2 separate regions of the Homo sapiens genome follow, and region 1 is linked to region 2. The links are contacts of gene promoters, found by promoter capture Hi-C in blood cells and fetal thymus (Javierre and others, 2016). All regions are on one chromosome and are shown on one strand. The core of a region is centred on a gene start or on the middle of the fragment in contact, and the rest is flanking DNA. Distances in the headings are between cores, read along the strand shown.

Evidence for each region. Contacts are between HindIII fragments. The CHiCAGO score rates a contact against its expected background, and 5 or more counts as called.
Region 1: a contact is called between a fragment that was not itself captured here and the fragment with the promoter of PCDHA2 in region 2, in 4 of 17 cell types (M2 macrophages, endothelial precursors, M1 macrophages and 1 more). The highest score is 7.2, in M2 macrophages.

The regions. Positions count from the first base shown.
Region 1 is chr5:141,080,754-141,087,941 of GRCh38, forward strand. It overlaps PCDHB@. Among named protein-coding and RNA genes, the nearest start is that of PCDHB1-AS1, 6.3 kb to the left of the region's middle. The HindIII fragment of the contact is 515 bases long and covers 5,133-5,647 here.
Region 2 is chr5:140,792,014-140,798,731 of GRCh38, forward strand. PCDHA2 (protocadherin alpha 2) reads left to right here and starts at 2,839. Exons shown (of 4, transcript NM_018905.3): 1 at 2,839-5,339. The coding sequence starts at 2,952. All of the region lies in intron 1 of PCDHA1 (protocadherin alpha 1), which reads left to right. It also overlaps PCDHA@. The HindIII fragment of the contact is 8,329 bases long and covers 1-6,718 here.

The sequences.
Region 1 (7,188 bases), core at 4,140-6,639, 290 kb after region 2:
ACAGTATGGAAGGTGCATCCTGAATCTTGAAAGAATCTACCATATATGGGATCCTTAAGAAACTTAGGTCATAGCAGTTCTTTGAGAAACATCCCATTGTCAACTGTGGAAAAGTAAAAAAGTTTTGAGACTCGCTAGCGTACTCACAACATGAATATGACATTCAAGATAGACTTCTTAGTTTAAAAGAATTAGATAGATTCATGGCAGGGCTACCAAACCATGTAGAATGGAGACCAGTATGAAAAAAAAATATTTTAGGCCATGTGCAGTTGTTCATGCCTGTAATCCCAGCACTTTGGGAGGCTGAGGCAGGAGGATCACGTGAGGTCAGGAGTCCGAGACCAGCCTGGCCAACATGGTGAAACCCTGTCTCTACTAAAAATACAAAAATTAGCCTGGTGTGATGGCAGACACCTGTAATCCCAGCTACTTGGGAGGCTGAGACACAAGAATCGCTTGAACCTGGGAGATGGAGGTTGCAGTGAGCCGAGATTGTGCCACTGCACTTGAGCCTGGGCAATAGAGTGAGACCCTGTCTCAAAAAAAAAAAAGAAAAATATATATTTTAATATGTCTCTCTACATCTTTGATCTCATTGTCTCTTAAGAATTTATTGCCCATTTCACAGATGAAGAAATTGAGTCTTGTAGAAATTGGGTATTGTATTAGTATAAAGAACACATTATACATTTTATAAATGAAGAATCGTAATAAGGTCAGGGAGGTTAAAGGGTCTTCCCACTATGGCACACTTAGTATGTAGCAATTGCTATATTAAAATTCCATGAAACAGAAGATAGAACAAGAAAAGAAAGTGTATAGGGGAAACAAAATTAAGAAGCCTTAATATATAAAGGATAAATAAGGAGTCCCCAAAGGGATTGAAAAGGAATGGGTAGAGAGAAAAAATTTCAAAAGAGGGTGCTGTCACAGGAGTCAGAAGAGAGTGTTTCAAGAAGGAGGGAATAGTGGACTATGTTTAATGTTACTGAAAGTTCAAATGAGAAGAGAATGAAAGTATCTACTGAATTTGGCATTATGGAAGTGAATTAATGAACACTTTTAGTGTCGAATTGTAAAAGTTTAAGGAGAGACTGAGGAATTGAGGAAGTATTGTCAGTACGTGTATAAAATCTTTTCAAGAAGCTTGAATATTTAAGAAATTAATAGAAATGAGATGGTAGCTGAAAAGAAGTGTGGGATCCTGGTAAGTTTGTTTTTGTTTCGTTTTGTTTTGTTTTTTTGAGACAGTCTCACTCTGTTGCCCAGGCTGGAGTGCAGTGGCATGGTCTCAGCTAACTGCAACCTCTGCCTCCTGGGTTCAAGCAATTCTCATGCCTCAGCCTTCCGAGTAGCCGGGATTACAGGCGCGCCACCACGCCCAGCTGATTTTTTGTATTTTTAGTAGAGACAGGGTTTCACCTTGTTGCCCAGGCAAGTTTTGAACTCTTGAGCTCAGGCAGTTCGCCCACCTAAGCCTCCCAAAGTGCTAGGATTATAGGTGTGAGCCACTGTGCCCAGCTTCTGGCAAGATTTTTGAGGTGGATGATAAGATCAAATAATTCATTGAAAAGAGAGAGTTTGAATATGCAGGAATGAAAATAATTCATATTCAACAAGGGTGAAACTGTGAGTGAAATTCTCATAACTTATGCTATGCTTAAAGGTTCTAGATTTTTGCATAAATAAGAATGTGCTGCATGTTCCATTGAGGTAAGGGAGAAGGATAATAGAGTGCAGTGTAGGAGTCATTTAGACTTATATTTGTTTGTAGGAGTAAACCAGACAATGTAGAGAAGTTCTTGCTTTCATAGTATTACACTAATAATAGTAAACATTTATGAAGTACCATGATGTTCCATGCTCTGAGCTGAGCATTTCATAAGCGCTGTTTCTTTTTCTTTTCTTTTCTTTTCTTTTTTCTTTCTTTCTTTCTTTCTTTTTTTTTTTTTTTTTTTGCGATGGAATCTCGCTCTGCCACCAGCCTGGAGTGCAGCGGCTTGATCTCAGCTCCCTGCAATCTCGGCCTCCTGGGTATAAGTGATTCCCCCCTGCCTCAGCCTCCTGAGTAGCTGGGACTACAGGTGCGCACCACCACACCTGGCTAATTTTTTGTATTTTAGTAGAGACAGGGTTTCACCATGTTGGCCAGGACGGTCTGAATCTCCTGATCTCATGATCCGCTCACCTCACCCTCCCAAAGTGCTGGGATTACAGGTGTGAGCCACCGCGCCTGGCCTGCACTGTTTCATTTGATTGTCACAACTTCATGAAGGAGATAACACTATTATATCCATAATTTTTTTCAGATGAGAAAGCAGAAGTTTGGAGAGATTAAATACTTTTCCTAATTTAATGTATGTGAAGAAGCAGAGCCAGGACTTGAATATGACTCTTAACATCATAAAGTCTTTTTTTTTTTTTTTTTTTTTGTGACAGTCTTGCTCTGTTCCCCAGGCTGAAGTGCAGTGGTGCGATCTCAGCTCACCGAAGCCTTCTGCCTTCTGGGTTCCAGCGATTCTCCTGCCTCAGCCTCCTGGGTAGCTGGGATTACAGGCGCATGCCACCACACCTTGCTAATTTTTGTATTTTTAGTAGAGACGGGGTTTCACCACGTTGGCCAGGCTGGTCTCAAACTCCTGATCTCAGGTGATCCGCCCACCTTGGCCTCCCAACGTGCTGGGATTACAGGCGTGAGACACCGTGCCCAGCCAACATCATAAAGTCTTAATCACCACTTTAAATATTTCCTTAAGATATTGTTAACTCAAGCTGCAGGATTTTCCTTTAAACTGGAGATGTGAGCCAAGTTCAAAGAGAAAAAAGAGGCCTATCCCTATCCTTTTTTTTTTTTTGAGACAGAATCTTGCTGTGTTGGCCAGGCTGGAGTGTAGTGGCATGATCTCGGCTCACTGCAACCTCCATCTCCTGGGTTCAAGCAGTTCTCCTTCCTCAGCCTCCCAAGTAGCTGGGACTACAAGCATGAGCCACCATATGCAGCTGTTTTGTATTTTTAGTAGAGACGGGGTTTCACCATGTGGGCCAGGCTGGTTTCGAACTCCTGACCTCAAGTGATCTGTCCGCCTTGGCCTCCCAAAGTGCTGGGATTACAGGCGTGAGCCACCACGCCCGGCCCTATCCCTAGTCTTTTAGTTGTCATCCCTTGACACTTCATACAGGGCTCTGTGATGTTGACTGACTGAAAGACTGCAACCCCGCTATGGGCCACGATGTTCATTCACATCATTCGAGAAAAATCTTATTTCCTGCAAAATCAGAAATACTTCATCTGCAGTAGAAAATCATTTCAATGGGTTTGTGTTTAAGTTGGTACCATAAAATTAAACTTAGCTTAAACCTCACCTCCTCTGAGACTCTTCCTGATACCTCACTTCTGTTCTTAAATATCCCTTTTTAGTACCTGATAGTGCCTATGCAAATCACCGAGTCACCTTTTTAATATTCTAACCTCCTGCGGTGTAGGCACCAGACTTTACTCAACTTTATATCCCCAATGTCTTTTACAGTGCTTGAATATAATCTGTGTGTAAAAAATACCTGCGAAGAATTAATCAGTTCAATGAATTTATGGCCAAATGACTGGCTTGATTGAAATGAAAGAAATCCAATTCGGTTCCTCTCAAAGGAAATCTCACAGCTGATATTATGATAATAAACAACCATTGTTTTTGTTCACATTAAGTAAACTAAATATTGGAGAAGTAATTAAAACTCAAGAGGTGAGAATTCCGCCCCTAGATGTGAATATGAACAGATTTTGACAGTTTCCGCAGGAAAGCGCTGTACAGCCCAGGTTTTCAGTTCGGACGCCTGGTGGCACTACAGGCTAAAAAGTAGGAGGAGGAGGAGCCCTGCATTTGCCTGCAGACTCCATCTTAGAAAAGACAAAATCTGAAAGGTGCTGGGAACAGATACGAGTTGGAAAACGTCCGCAGCGAGCTCAGATTTTAGAGCTTTCTTCAAACGAATGGGGACTACACAAATGTTTGGAAGTCTTACAGGATTTCCGAAGACTTCATTTACTAAAGGCAATGCACTCAGAGGATATACAGGAAATTGTGCGAGAAAAAAATCTGGCAGAAAACGCAGGTGGTGGGTTTTCATTTTCTTCCCGGGTGTAGCGCAGGCGGCCCAGGAAAAGGAAAACTGCTTTTTTATGGTCAGGGTTTCTGGAGATTGGCGCTGGCGGCGGAAAGGGGAGCGGCGGGAGGACAGACTGGAGCAGGATAGTTTCCAAAGAGACCAAATAATATTTCAGATCGACCCACAGAAGAGTCCTTGCTCTCAAGTAGAAAATCGGACCTATAGGAGCCCTGCATTTCCAAGAATTACCTGTATTTAAAAAAAAAAAAAATTTGTCTTTTGAGAAAAATCTGTGTCTGAGGTGTAACCGTTTCCTCCTTTGAAAAATTCTTCTGAATGTTCCAGAATGTGCACCAGGAACATGTATGAGGTTTGGGTAAATTTTCCATCATTGGAAACTACACACTCATTTTCAATTTCCATGTTCACAATAATGTGCTGTGCAATATTGGGGTAAGTAATTTGTCCATACGCGTGAAAAAAATCGCTGGATGAACCACAGCCCAAGGTAAGTTTAACTCTCCCAGAGAAGAATGGTAGATATCTGAGACCTCCTAAGTCCAAGTCATGACAATCAATGACAATCTTTGAGATGCAGGTCTCACAGCAACCGGCTGAAGATTTAGTCTGAGTAAATAATTATGAATCGGCTCTCAGAATTCTCCAGGCTCACTGAATTCTGCAACCTCTGGAGAGCATTTTAAATGCTAGCAGAACATTTTAAATACCACTGATACCCCATGCATCATAAGCATCCACTGCAAGAGAATTACCAGGAAATTTCAGTGCCACGTGGCAAATACTCAGGCAATTACAAGCAGAAATAGTTTCAGAAATTGTTTCTTCATGTGAAGGACGGTGGAAGACCATGCCATTGGATGACAATCACATAGAATTGGTCATGTTGACACTTATCTGCCTCATCCTGGAGCACTTCTGGGAAGACTTCATCTGTTTAAGAACCATAATCTCAGCACCCTGAGATAAAACAACAACAACAACAAAAACAAAACAAAACAAGAAAAAGCTTTGATCCTTCCTACCAGAGTTTTCTTTTCATTGGATATTTAAAATATTCCATAATCTGACAACCTAATAATGCAAACCAGAAAAGAGAGCTACACGCAACATCACTGTATTTCCAATGAAATTAGGTTCCAGGAAGCTCAAAACAAGACAGTAGGTAGAGACAGCTATCATCCTTGGCGTTCTTCCTTTTGGATTCTGGATAAAAGGTAGAGGAATAACAGCACCGTTCTGAATGTTTTGGTTATTTTATGGCTCTAATTTCCATCGTGTTTTTTTTCTGAAGCATAGCTAATTGTTCATTAACAGTTAACAGATATTGATGGCTTAGCTATTTTTATCTTTTTATCTATTTCACAAAGGTCTATTTAGAATCTAGTAGTGTATTTCCTCTTTATTGTTAAGCACAGAAAAGGAACGCATTTTTTTCTGCTCATGCCTAGTTTCCTTTGATCTTTCTCAAAGGTAAATTACCCCTAAAACTTTGAGTAGACTGTCCTAGCAGATATTCTGAAGCTTGACAAGGAAATTCATCCCACTTCAATCCATAAAATGATAGTCTTCGTAACTTCTCAAAGAAGGTCAAGCTATTTATTTTAAAGTCATCTTTTGCTTTTCTTGATATTTCGTAAATGATGGCTGACAAGTTGTGATAGTCTACTTTTCAGCAGGACTGGTCTCCATTTACTTAGTTTAAGTAACTATTTACTTGATTACTATTATTAATATATGGTTTTAACTTTTTATTTGAAATAGTCATTTGATGATTTTGGTGATATTGATGACCACGAAATCAAATGGAGATATACAACTACAAGAAAAAAAACTGTAGAAATAAATGTCTTTTTCGTTATTTAAGACGTAAATCAACTGAGTTGCTGTGTAGCTTATTTATGTCAATGTTAAATTTGTGTTTGTTAATTTTTACTGTTTCCTTATTAAACATCAAAAATGATTAATTCTTTGGCAATTAATATCATAGCATATCCAGTACATTAAATGTCATGTAAAACAGACCGACAAAACAATCTTATCTTTTTTTTCTTTATGTCAGTGTTTAATACTCTCCTGTATGGCTTAGGAAAATTAAAGAAGATACAACAGAATATGCCTCAAATAAGACCTATTTGTTGATATTTAATATATTTATGATAGTTGCTGATAAAATGAAAACAGACATTATTCAATACACTGGATAATAATTACATAAATACAAAGTGTTTGGTGTTTTCATTTGCCTTTCTCAAATACTTTTTTTCTTTCTAGAGAGTTTAATGCACTGACGGGGGGTGGGGGGCGGTCCTATAATGGCACTGCAGGCTCAAATGGTGGTTAAAGCAGATTGCAAATACAGTGCTGTATGTTTCATATTATATTACCCTGTCTGTGAAAGTTGTATTGGATGTCTAAGATTCTGGTGGCATAAGTAATAGAAACATTAGGGTGATCAGAGTTTGTGTAGGACCATATTTGCTGGAAGGTGTTAGAAGAAGGAATAATGTAATACTTAAAGCCCAGTCTAAAACAAAGTGTGATTCTGTTTTACTAAGCATGTACCATTCAGGATACTGAACTGCAGAATTCTGTTCCAGAGGTGCTGGAGAGTGGTTCCTTCATTGCTAATTTTGCAGAGATTTTGGGCCTTAGGATGGGGAACTTGAGAGGTATGGGGAGCGAGAGGGTAATTCATGTTTCTATAGATTTAAAAAACTGCATTTTCAAATCAAAAGACTCAGGAGTGGGTACTAAATAGAAATTGGATCCATCTGTGAGTCTCAAAGCACCTTGGAAAAATGTAACTCATTTGAGTTACTCATTTGCCTTGAGAAAGGTAACTTGGAAAAATGAGTTACATTTTTACAAGGTGCCTTGGACTCACAGATATAGCCATTCACTAGTGTGTATTACTGGATCTAGGAATGCTGCAAAAAATCAAGGAGAGCATCTTGTAGAGACCATATAGATGGCAGAACATGTAGACAGAGCAGTATTCATAAGTATATTTTGAATCCTAATTCCCATGTCTTCTCTTCTGTTTGCTTAGAGAATGGTGGC
Region 2 (6,718 bases), core at 1,589-4,088:
AATAACAGAAATTTATTTTCTTACAGAGTCTCTGTAAGAATAAATTTCTTCTCTCTTATGGAGGCCAGAAGTCCAAAATCAGCGTGTTTCCTGGGCCGCATTTCTTCTGAAGACTTTAGGGGAAATTTTTTTCTTGGATCTTCCAGCTTCTGGTAGCTCTTGGCATTGCTTGGCTTGTGGCAGCATAACTCCAGTTCCTGCCTCTGTCTTCACATTTCCTTCTTTCCTGTGTTACTATATGCCTTCTCTTTTTCTGTCTTTTATAAGGGGCAACCATCATTGGATTTATGGCCTTCTGTAATCTAGGATGATCTCATATCAAGATCCTCATCTTTGTTACATCTGCAAAGACCTTTATTCCAAATAAGGTCACTTATTTAAACCTCAGAAAAGTGATGTCTTTTGGGGTATCTTTGACCCAAAACAGGTACCAAGAGATATCAAGTGCAGTGGGAGGAAGGATATTTGCTGAGCATGGCTTCTTAATCTCTTTTCCCCGTTGTGGGGGAAATGTACTTGCATATCTGGCAATAGTATTCTATCTCCGGGGGAAGGGGGAAATATTCCATATTCTCAGAAATCCTAAATAACAGCACAAAATGCCTCTTATACCCCCACATATGTCATTCTGAATATCCGGTATAATTAATTACCTTATATGATTGCAGAAATTGTCTCAAGCAAGCCATGTTTCCTGAAGCTAGCATCTGGATTCTAGGTATAATTCCTTCTATGTGTCAACAGTGGTCAATGTTGGCTATAGATTAAATAATAATTACTGGGTATCATACATATGCAATTGCTTTGCAACTACATAATGCTGTAACGAGCAGTTCTGAAGCTATCTGCCATCTGTTTAAGCTCCAGGAGAATTTGGGTACATGCCATGACCTCCACTTTTCAGTTCACATAAAAACCAACCTCCCACTTTTCAGTTCACATAATTTAGGTGGAGCTGATTTCATTTCCTGGCTTCAAGAATGAGCAAGTGGACCCATGTCTAGCCAATGTGAGAAAAATCACAATTATTGACTAAAGGAAATTTACATCATCCAAACTGGGCTGTAGGAAGTAATATCCAGGATTTTTGCTGGACTATTAGAAAAGAGCACTTTCTGGTAAGAGTCATCAAACTGGTAATTTTTAGTCTAGAAAGCTACTTTGGCCATTTTGCCAGCAGATGGGAAAAGTCTATCTGAGAAGAAGTTCAGCAGGGGAAAAGGAATTATAAATGTGGAGATTATTTTCCTTATGGAATTATGGAAGGGTGTAGACCCAGCTCTGTCTGAAACCAGTAATTAATTACCCATTTCCATGTATGAGTCAGTACAGGATTCTCTGGTTTATTTTTGCTTAAATCGGTTAACTTGGGATTTACTGTTAGAGTATGATTAACATAAATACACATTTCCATAGATGGTACAAATGAGTATCTTAAGATACTGTACATGAGGGAAAAAAATTGTTATTGGAAAAAAAGCTAGCTTTTCTTAACAAGAGCTTTGCTTTTCTCTTACGGACATTGCAAATTTTGCAATTAATTTTACTTCTCTCTTTGCTCTAGGAAGCTGAAAACAAAATTGGTGACATGGTTAGAGTAACTGAAGGTGACCCTTTATTATGGATTTTGTATGCTATCCCACTCCTTGATTCATTTTATTTCATCCTCATCTTATCTTTATTCTATTTTCATTTTTTTACTGTGAAGGGATCAGCTAAAAATTAACAAAAGAAGATATTCTCAAGTAATTAACACAAAAAAAGAGATCGATTGTATTGTTCTTGCATAAAAGTCTAAATGTAATGGAAAAGGAATATTCTAAAGTAATAGTACATTATCCAAATGAGAAACAAATAAATTATTAATTTCAAAACATTTGCAAACAATTCAAAAATCAAAATTAAATCACAAAACAACAGTATATATACACATATATTTTCAATGGACTAAAATACCTTTGATTACTATGTTCTTCATTTGAAGAAATAGTGAAAAATGCTAATATATCCAAAAGAATTGAAAGCAGGGTCTCAAAGAAATATATGCACACCCATGTTCATGGCAGCACTGTTCACAACAGTCAAGAAATGGAAGCAACTCAAATGTCCACGAATACTTGAATGAATAAACAAAACGTGGTGTATACATATGTTGGACTATTATTCAGCCTTAAAAAGGAAAGAAGTCCTGTCACATGTTACAATATGGATGAACCTTGAGGAACCATCCACGGATGCTTGAATGAATAAACAAAACGTGGTGTATACATACGATGGACTAGTATTCAGCCTTAAAAAGGAAATAAATCTTGTCACATGCTACAACATGGATGAACCTTGAGGACATTGTGCTAAGTGAAATAGGCCAGTCACAAAAAGACAAATACTTTACGAGTCCACTTACACGAAATATCTAAAGTAGTGAAATTCATAGAAATAGAAAATAGGACTGTGGTTACCAGAGACTGGAGTGACGGTGAAAAGCGGAGTTGTTGTCTAATGGGTATAGAGTTTCTGTTTTCCAAGATGAAAAATTTGTAACAATGTGAATATACTTAACATTACTGAAATGTACATTTAATCATAGTTAATATGGTAATTTTAAATATTATGTTGTGTGTTTTTTAACCAGAGTAAAAAAGGGTAAAAAGGTAATATATTTTAGGGCTTAAAATAGTTATTTTTTTCCAAGATGAAAGCTATGAGTAAACTTAAACCAGAAAATCGACTAGTTTTAAATCTACAGAATAAACAGTAGAGCCTTCCTTTTAGCCACATGATGTCGCTGTCCACCATAGAGTGTTCTCTAGGAAGGAAAATACCCAGAGCCCCTTTGTTACTTCAGAGAAGCGGAGGAATAAGAGAAGCAGCAGGACTTTAACAGAGACTAGAATATTTAAATTTTTGCAAAACATGCTCTTCTAATTTGATCAAAACATTGAGGATTGGTAATGGCGTCTTCTATCAGAAGGGGCCGAGGGGCCTGGACACGGCTGCTCTCGCTTCTGCTCCTCGCAGCCTGGGAGGTGGGGAGCGGCCAGCTCCGCTACTCCGTCCCCGAGGAGGCCAAACACGGCACCTTCGTGGGCCGCATCGCGCAGGACCTGGGGCTGGAGCTGGAGGAGCTGGTGCCGCGCCTGTTCCGGGTGGCGTCCAAAAGACACGGGGACCTTCTGGAGGTAAATCTGCAGAATGGCATTTTGTTTGTGAATTCTCGGATCGACCGGGAGGAGCTGTGCGGGCGGAGCGCGGAATGTAGCATCCACGTGGAGGTGATCGTGGACAGGCCGCTGCAGGTTTTCCATGTGGAAGTGGAGGTGAAGGACATTAACGACAACCCGCCAATATTTCCAATGACAGTAAAGACTATCCGGTTTCCCGAATCAAGGCTGCTTGATTCTCGGTTTCCTCTAGAGGGAGCATCTGATGCAGATATAGGAGTAAATGCTCTTCTCTCCTACAAGCTCAGCTCCAGTGAGTTTTTCTTCCTAGATATACAGGCAAATGATGAACTAAGCGAATCTTTGTCTCTCGTGCTGGGGAAATCGCTGGACAGAGAGGAAACTGCTGAGGTTAATTTGTTACTGGTGGCTACTGATGGGGGCAAACCTGAGCTCACGGGCACCGTTCAAATACTTATTAAGGTATTAGATGTAAATGACAATGAACCAACTTTTGCCCAATCAGTTTACAAAGTAAAATTGTTAGAGAATACGGCAAATGGGACCTTAGTGGTTAAGTTAAACGCTTCTGATGCAGATGAAGGACCGAACAGCGAGATTGTGTATTCACTCGGTAGTGATGTGTCCTCCACTATACAGACTAAGTTTACCATAGATCCCATCTCAGGGGAAATCAGAACTAAGGGAAAATTAGATTATGAAGAAGCAAAGTCCTACGAGATTCAGGTCACTGCAACTGACAAAGGAACCCCTTCAATGTCAGGACATTGTAAAATTTCATTAAAACTTGTGGACATCAATGATAACACACCAGAAGTCTCAATAACGTCTCTCTCACTTCCCATCTCAGAGAACGCTTCCCTGGGCACTGTCATTGCTCTCATCACGGTGTCGGATCGCGACTCTGGTACGAATGGACATGTCACCTGCTCCCTGACGCCCCACGTCCCTTTCAAGCTGGTGTCCACCTTCAAGAATTACTACTCGTTGGTGCTGGACAGCGCCCTGGACCGCGAGAGCGTGTCAGCCTATGAGCTGGTGGTGACCGCACGGGACGGGGGCTCGCCTTCACTGTGGGCCACCACCAGCGTGTCCATCGAGGTGGCCGACGTGAACGACAACGCGCCGGCGTTCGCACAGCCTGAGTACACAGTATTCGTGAAGGAGAACAACCCGCCGGGCTGCCACATCTTCACGGTGTCAGCGTGGGATGCGGACGCGCAGGAGAACGCGCTGGTGTCCTACTCGCTGGTGGAGCGGCGGGTGGGCGAGCGCGCGTTGTCGAGCTACGTTTCGGTGCACGCGGAGAGCGGCAAGGTGTACGCGCTGCAGCCGCTGGACCACGAGGAAGTGGAGCTGCTGCAGTTCCAGGTGAGCGCGCGGGATGCGGGCGTGCCGCCTCTGGGCAGCAACGTGACGCTGCAGGTGTTCGTGCTGGACGAGAACGACAACGCGCCGGCACTGTTGGCGCCTAGGGCTGGCACCGCTGCTGGCGCAGTGAGTGAGCTGGTGCCGTGGTCGGTGGGTGCAGGGCACGTGGTGGCGAAGGTGCGCGCAGTGGACGCTGACTCAGGCTACAACGCGTGGCTTTCGTACGAGCTTCAGCTGGGTACTGGCAGCGCTCGCATCCCGTTCCGCGTGGGGCTATACACGGGTGAGATCAGCACGACACGTGCCCTAGACGAGGCTGACTCCCCTCGACACCGCCTACTCGTGCTGGTGAAGGACCACGGCGAACCAGCGTTGACAGCCACGGCCACCGTGTTAGTGTCGTTGGTGGAAAGTGGCCAGGCACCCAAGGCCTCGTCGCGGGCGTGGGTGGGCGCCGCGGGCTCAGAGGCTACGCTGGTGGATGTCAACGTGTACCTGATCATCGCCATCTGCGCGGTATCCAGCCTGTTGGTGCTCACGGTGCTGCTGTACACTGCGCTGCGGTGCTCGGTGCCACCCACCGAGGGTGCGCGCGCGCCAGGAAAGCCCACGCTGGTGTGCTCCAGCGCCGTGGGGAGCTGGTCTTACTCGCAGCAGAGGCGGCAGAGGGTGTGCTCTGGGGAGGACCCCCCCAAGACGGACCTCATGGCCTTCAGCCCTAGCTTATCTCAAGGTCCAGACTCCGCAGAAGAGAAACAGCTCTCAGAATCAGAATACGTAGGAAAGGTGAGTCTTTTACTTTTTCTTGCCAATTCTAAAATTGTTCTTTTTAAAAAATTCTATATGATTTCTACTAGTTATTTAGATTCATAGTTCTTCATTTATTTTATATCATCCTACCGTGCGATTTTGAATATGAATTAGAGATCAATTTATTGCATTTACTGAACAATTTATTTAAACAATCTACATAACTGTTTTCTTATTTTTACATTTTGGCACTTCCATCATTAAGTCATAAGTAATAGACCATGAAACACTGAAAAACACCTCAGCAAAATTTGTAAATTAAACATTTCCCATAAATATTTTCTCTCTTAAAAATTGAAAATCACAATCGGAAGAAATTAAAGAATTTGATTATATAATACGTATTTTCAACTGACACTGTCTATCCAATCTGTCGGATAGTGTTTGGAATAACCTATATCCTGGACATTTCTTAGATTGTTCTTTGGATCAACAATGCCCTTGTCTATGCAATAGTTAATAAGCTACATTTTTTTTTTGTTTGTTTGTTTTTGTTGAGACAGTCTTGCTCTGTCACCTAGGCTGGAGTGCAGTGGTGTGATCTCAGCTCACTATAACCTCTGCCACCCGGGTTCAAGTGATTGTCTTGCCTCAGCCTCCTTAGTAACTGGGATTACAGGCGCCCACCACCACGCCCGGCTATTTTCTTTTTTAAATTTTTTATTTTTAGTAGAGACGGGGTTGGTCTCAACTAAATGTTGGCCAGGCTGGTCTCAAACTCCTGGCCTCAAGTGATCCACCCTCCTAGGCCTCCCAAAGTGCTGGGATTACAGGAGTGAGCCACTGCACCTGGTCTTTTTATTTGTATTTGAAAGCAGCCTGAGTGGATATTTTAACACCAGAATTTCCAAAAGTATGTAGCACAGGTTGTTACAACAAAATGACAGCACTTAGGAATAACTGCTAATCTTAAGTATGTTTTTTATAAGTAAAATAACCCATTATTTGGTATAAAGATTTCACACTGATAACATTTTTGAGTTATCAGGCAAAAATAGAGAGTATTGAGAAAAGAGACCCTCTCAATTTTGTTTAATTTGAAAATATTAACATTTAAAAATCACACTGGGGTTTTTCAGGTGGTGGGACTTTTTCTTCATTTAAGTGGAGACTACCCAGTCTTTATGTTAATGGTTGATAAATCATCCTTTCAGTATCATTATCATTAGGCCAATGTGTGCAGGCCTCCCACTGCAGAGATTGACTACTTTTTTCTGGCATCTAATTCTATGCGTGGGAATACATTTTCCATTAATGTGAGCTCACTCAATTTTACCTGGAAGCATCCATATTCCTAATGAAATTGGAATTTTTCCAAAAGATGAGGCCTGGTCTTGGATGACTACATTTTCACT